2 separate regions of the Homo sapiens genome follow, and region 1 is linked to region 2. The links are contacts of gene promoters, found by promoter capture Hi-C in human tissues and cell types (Jung and others, 2019). All regions are on one chromosome and are shown on one strand. The core of a region is centred on a gene start or on the middle of the fragment in contact, and the rest is flanking DNA. Distances in the headings are between cores, read along the strand shown. Region 1 overlaps SPECC1 (sperm antigen with calponin homology and coiled-coil domains 1). Region 2 holds the start of ULK2 (unc-51 like autophagy activating kinase 2).

Region 1 (3,018 bases), core at 319-2,818, 380 kb before region 2:
GAACAGTATGGAGGTTCCTCAAAAAATTAGAAATAGTACTACCAAATGATCCAGCAACACCACTTCTAGGTATTTATCCAAGAAAATTGAAAACAGGATCTCAAAGAGATACTTGCACTCTCTTGCTCATTGCAGCATAATTCACAACAGCCAAGACGTGGAAGCAACCCCAGTGTCCACCACCAGATGAATGGACGAAGAAAATGTGGTATAGAATATACAATGGAATATTATTCAGCCTTAAAAAAGAAGGAAATCCTGTCCCATGCTACAACATAAATGAGTTTTGGAGACATTATGCTAAGTCAAATACACCAGTCACTGAAGGACAAGAGCGGCATAACTCTATGTACGTGAGGAATCTAAAGTAGTCAAAATCACAGAAGCAGACAGTGGAGTGGTGGCTCCCAGAGGCCTCAGGGAGGGGAAGTGGGGAATTGTTCCGTGGATACAGAGTTTCAGTCAGGCAAGATAACAAAGTTCTAGAGGACAGAAAGATGGCAACAAGAGACACTGGGGAGTGCTAGAGGAGGGGGAGGCAAGCACTGAAAACCTGTTGGGTACTATGCTCACTACTTGGGTGATGGGATCAATCATACCCCAAACCTCAGCATCCCACAATATATCCATGTAACAAATCTGTACATGTACACCCTGAATCTGAAATAAAATTAAAAATTTAAAAAAAAATTTTTCTAGAGACCTGCCATACAATATTGTGCTTCTAGTTAACAATACTTAAAAATTTGTTAATAGAGTAGATTTCATGGTGTATTTTTTTTACTGCCATTTAAAAAAGCATTTCAGAATGCAAGTAAGCATGATATTATTCAAGGAAAAACCTTGAAAAACACCCTCTGTTTTTCTAAAAACACAACTGTTATCATAGCATTATATTGTTTTGTACACCATTTTGCTTCTTTCACTTACTGTATCTTAGAAGTCATTCTATACCCACCATCACCCACCATCTTGGCAGCTTCCTCTGAGAAGTGCCACAAGAGGCCAAGTAAGTGGCTCTGGGGACAGATGGCACCACCCACCTGTGAGACTCTGGGTTACTTAATTTTCTGTGCCTTATTTTCTTTATTTATAAAATGGCAACGATACTAAACGTACTTACCTCAAAGGGTTATGGGAGGATTAAATGAGTTAAATCCAGTTAGAACAATCAAAACACAGCCCAGCAGATAGTAAGCATTCAGTAGATCTTAGCTATTTTCATTACCATAATTTATTTTACTGATTCTCTATTGATATTCATGTTGATATTGATATTAGGAACAATGCTGCAATGAACAACCTGGTACATTTGCCTGTGCAGGGCCATTCTGAGGCTTTCCAGAACATTATTTTCTCTTAGAGGCTCTACTTCATAGCATATTAAACACAATTCCATGTATCCACATCCCACAAAAATATAATGGTCGTGGTATACAGTTTTCAAAAGTAGTTTTAAATCTTGCTTTTGAAGTTGGCTGAACAAAAGTGACAATATGGGGCATTCCTATCCCATTCACAATCCTGTGGGAAAGCATCCGATATTTCACCATTAAGTATGATGTTTGCTGTAGATATATAATACAGACCCTTTATCAGATTAAAGACTTTCCCTTCTATTCCTACTTTTCTAAGAATTTCCATCAAGAAAGATATTAATCTTTATCGACTACATTTTCCTGCCACCACCTACTAAGATGACCATATGCTTTTTTTTTTTTTTTTTGAGATAGAGTCTTACTCTGTCGCCCAGGAGTGGAATGGCAATGATCTCAGGTGACTGCAACCTCCGCCTCCTGGATTTAAGCCATTCTTGTGCCTCAGCCTCCCAAGTAGCTGGGGGTTACAGGCGTGCACCACCACGCCCAGCTAATTTTTGTATTTTTAGTAGAGATGGGGTTTCGCCATGGTGACCAGAGTGGTCTTGAACTCCTGGCCTCCAGTGATCCACCTACCTTGGCCTCCCAAAGTGCTGGGATTACAGGCATAAGCCATTGTACCTGGCCAACCATATTCTTTTTATACCTTTGTTAATGTGGTGAATTACTCTGGTTGGCTTCAATATTAACCACCTTCCATTCCTGGAATAAACCCAACATGACATGATCTTTTTCATGTGTCTCTGAATAAGGTTTTCCAAGATTTTGTTCAGGATTTTTGCAAAGAGGTTCGTGAGAAAGACCTTTTAATTTTCTTGTCTATTAATGTTCTTGCAACTATTAGGGATCAAAGCTATGCTGACCTCTTTCCTAGTCTCTGAATTTACGTAAGATTGACATTATTTCTTCCTTAAATGTTTGGGAGGTTTCATGGTGAAGCCATAAGGCCCTGGCATTTCTTTTAAGGAAAAGATATAAATTATAGGTGATTGAGATTTTCTACTACTCTCTCCTATGTAAGTTTAGCACGTTACATTTTTCTAAGATTTTGACCATTTCATCAATATTTTCTAATTTATAGCACAAAGTAGTAATATATAATATTCTCTTACTATTGCTTTAATAATTATGAAATCTTTAGTGATGTACCCATTTACAAATTCCTGATACAGGTAATTTTGCATTAGCTTTTCTTGTCAGATGTTTTGAATTTTAATAGTCTTTTAAAAGAACAAACTCCATGCAGAACTCCTTTAAATAGTCTTTTCACTGCAAGTATCCTAGGAAAAAACATCTGGTTTTGTTGGACTCAAAGCATCTTTCTTTTGTGTTCACCTTTGAAGGGTATTTTCACCAGGTACAGCACTTTGAAGCATATTTTCATGAGGTAAAGGAAAGCAGGTGTTTTCTTTCAGCATTTTGCAGATGCCACTGCATTGTCTTCAGGGCTTCCATCATTCTTCTTGAGAAGAAAGATGTCAGTTTTGCTCTTCCTCCTTGGACATTGAGGTATCTTTTTTCTTTTGGGTGCTTTTAGGATGCTTTCTCTTTCATTTCCAGCAGTTTTAACCTCATGTGTCTGGGTGGTTTTCTTTGTACTTATCTCACTTGGGGTTCTTATTGTTTCTTGAATCTGGGC
Region 2 (3,067 bases), core at 202-2,701:
AAAACAGGCCGGGCGTGGTGGCTCACGCCTGTAATCCCAGCACTTTGAGAGGCCGAGACAGGCTGATCCCTTGAAGTTGGGAGTTTGAGACCAGCCTGGCCAACATGGTGAAACCCCATCTCTACTAAGATACAAAAATTAGCTGGGCGTGGTGGTGCGTGCCTGTAATTCTAGCTGCTTGGGAGGCTCAGGCAGCAGAATCACTTGCACTTGGGAGGCAGAGGTTGCAGTGAACCAAGATTGTGCTACCGCACTCCAGCCTGGGTGACAGAGTAAGATTCTGTCTCAAAAAAAAAAAAAAAAAAAAAAGTAAACAAAAAAATAGACTGTAGAGAATCTTTCAGTGAGGTAAGGAATCATCTCCATCCATTTTTGGGTGTATGTGCAAACTTGCTTAAGTTGCTGTCAACTTTTGAAGGCTCCAGATTTTCAGTGTCTAACACAACCACCTGGGCCAGATGTAAGTAAGGACAGGATAACGTAAGCGTGCACAGTAGCAGAAGCAGAAACTCAAGGCCCTACGTTTTGAGCGTGTGAGGAAGGAGCGTTCTCTCAGAATCCTGGAGCTGACTCTGTCATGGTTCAGAGATCAGCTTGCAGGGACAGGCAGTGGCAGTCGAGGTGGTGACAGACCCCAAAAGCACATACCCTATACAACCGAACACACACTCAAGTGTGGAGCCTGCGTATTCCATGGTAGTTTCAAGCATATTGTTTATTAAATGGTTTCATAAGACACTTCTTTGCGGGAAACCTGACAATCTGTTCCTTGTCACTTGGACAGCTTTAACAATCAGGTAGAAAAGAAAGCTCCCTTCGGCCATGTGAAGTAAGCCCGAGGTCAAACTAGCCTGACACTAGGAGCTCCCAGGAGAACCTTGAAAACGTGTGCGATTCTGAGTCGGTGTGCAGAAACGATTCTCTGCGAAGAGGGCCCTGAGCTGTCACCAGCTTCTCGCAGTCAAGGGACCCCCAAAAGGTGCAGAATCCCGCCTGTCACCGTCCCTCTAGGGATCCTAAGCGAGTAAACCCCGAGAGGCGTCCGAAGGCTGGCAGTTTGGCAGCGTGAACTCTGGTTTTCCAGAGCGCGGGCAAAGCCTGGAGTAGCAGTTGCTCCTTTGCTCTGGCAGGAATCTGGGGGTCTACCCTGCGCAGATAATCCCGTCCTGCCTGCAGCTGGGGTTCAAGACCCGCTTCTCTGAAGTCCGCCTCCCAGCGGCCTGGAGCCCGGGGCGTGGTCGGCTCGAATCTGCTCCCCAGGCCCAGAACGGAGCCCGCAGCCCGTAACCCGCTGTGGCCGCAGCGGGTCGCGCCCTTCGTCCCCGCCTCAGGAGCGGCCGAGGATCTGCCCAGCTGCGGGCGCCAAGCCCTGGCCGCACTCCTTTCCCCGGCGGAGGGAGCCGGCTGGCGCTGCGGCCTTCAAGGCGCGCGGACGTCGCGGAGGGCAGCCAGTCGCGCGGGAGCGGGTAGCGCGCGCGAGGGCGTTGGGCGCCGCCGCGAGGCGGGGAAGCGCGGGGCCGCGGCGGTGCGGGTTCTAGGGCGGCGGCCGTCGCCGTCGCAGCAGCGCCCCGAGCGGGGAGGGCCGAGGAGGCCCGACGAGCTGGGGATGGAGAGTACCGGGCCCCTCACTGCCTCAGAGCGCGTGTGCGGCTCTGGGCGCGCACAGTGACGGTGACGGCACCCCTGGCCCGGCAGCGCCGAGGCCGCTTCGCCAGACAGCCAGCGGCCGGCGGCAGGCCGGGCCATGAGCGGCAGGGGCCGGGCCGGGCCTCGCTGACCCTGGCTCCGCGCGGCAGCTTCCCCAGTTTCCGCTCCGGTCTCTCGGCATGAGAGTCCGCCCGGGCCCGGGGCTGCGGCTGCCCCAGACCCGCCGCACGCTGGCGCGCTCCGGGCCCGCGGAGCCGCGGTGCTGATACCTGCGCCGCACTGCGCCGCCCGCCCGTCCGCTGTGTGCCCCGGGGGCGCGGCCATGGAGGTGGTGGGTGACTTCGAGTACAGCAAGAGGGATCTCGTGGGACACGGGGCCTTCGCCGTGGTCTTCCGGGGGCGGCACCGCCAGGTGAGCGCCGGCCGGGGCGAGGCCGGGCCCCGGGCGGCAGGCACGGGGCTAGGTGGTTCTGAAACTTGGCGCAGCCGCGAGCCGAGACCCCCGACTCGGCTAGCCGCCCGGGTATGCTATTGTGCGCGCAGCCCGTCTCGCCGTTTGTTTTGGTCCTGTGAGGGTTGTTGTGAGGCCCAAGCCTCTGGCAGCGCTCCGCCTACCGACCGGCTGCTGCTGATCCTCCTGTGTGCCCGGGGCCCACCCCGCGGTCCGCCCGCAGGAGCGTTTGCACCCAGGTTACCCTGGACCCAAAATAGACGGTACTGCACCGTGCAGACTCGAGGGTTGGGCGTGAATGGACCTTTGGTTTTTTTCCCCGTGCCCAGGGCTGGTCACTTTTGAGGTTGATAATTACAGACCCAGCGGAAAATGGGCGGATGTCCCATTAGCCTCAGGCTTTCGCAGCCTGGGAGGTGTCACCTTTCCCAGCACTGGTCCCCTGCACCCCGAAGAGCCCCCGTACCGTTTTCCCCCCCGGAGTCAGATAGACGAGCTCCGGGTGAGAAAGGTGGTTGGACAATTCATTTTCAATCACCTTGAACATGAAATCACCTTTAAGCCTTAAAAAAATTGTTTTAAGCCTTTGCTGTTTCGCAAGTACAGTTACACGAGGTTTTAGAATCTAAAGAATTTGGAAAGGCATATCGGGAGTGGAAATAATCTTAAAGGGTGTGGCAGTTCTGATTGTTGCCCAAGGGGCGTGTTAAAAGTGGGCTGACTTTGTTGCTTATCGGATGAAGTAATGCTACTTTTCTTATTTATTTATTTATTTATTTTTGAGACAGAGTCTCGCTTTGTCGCCGAGGCTGGAGTGCCGTGGCGAGATCTCCGCTCACTGCAACCGCTGCCTCCCGGGCTCAAGCGATTCTCCTGCCTCAGCCTCCTGAGTAGCTGGGATTACAGGTGCCCGCCACCACGCCCGCCTAATTTTTTTTTTTTTGTATTTTTAGTAGAGATGGGGTTTCA

What was found. Contacts are between HindIII fragments. The study calls those that stand out against the background at their distance.
Region 1: a fragment that was not itself captured here is called in contact with the fragment with the promoter of ULK2 in region 2 in 1 of the 25 tissues and cell types used here (dorsolateral prefrontal cortex).

What each region holds. Positions count from the first base shown.
Region 1 is chr17:20,249,933-20,252,950 of GRCh38, reverse strand. All of the region lies in intron 9 of SPECC1 (sperm antigen with calponin homology and coiled-coil domains 1), which reads right to left. Among named protein-coding and RNA genes, the nearest start is that of FAM106B, 170 kb to the left of the region's middle. The HindIII fragment of the contact is 6,970 bases long and covers 1-3,018 here.
Region 2 is chr17:19,866,320-19,869,386 of GRCh38, reverse strand. ULK2 (unc-51 like autophagy activating kinase 2) reads left to right here and starts at 1,451. Exons shown (of 27, transcript NM_014683.4): 1 at 1,451-2,059. The coding sequence starts at 1,970. RefSeq lists silencers at 1,398-1,987, 2,068-2,247 and an enhancer at 1,826-2,334. The HindIII fragment of the contact is 32,590 bases long and covers 1-3,067 here.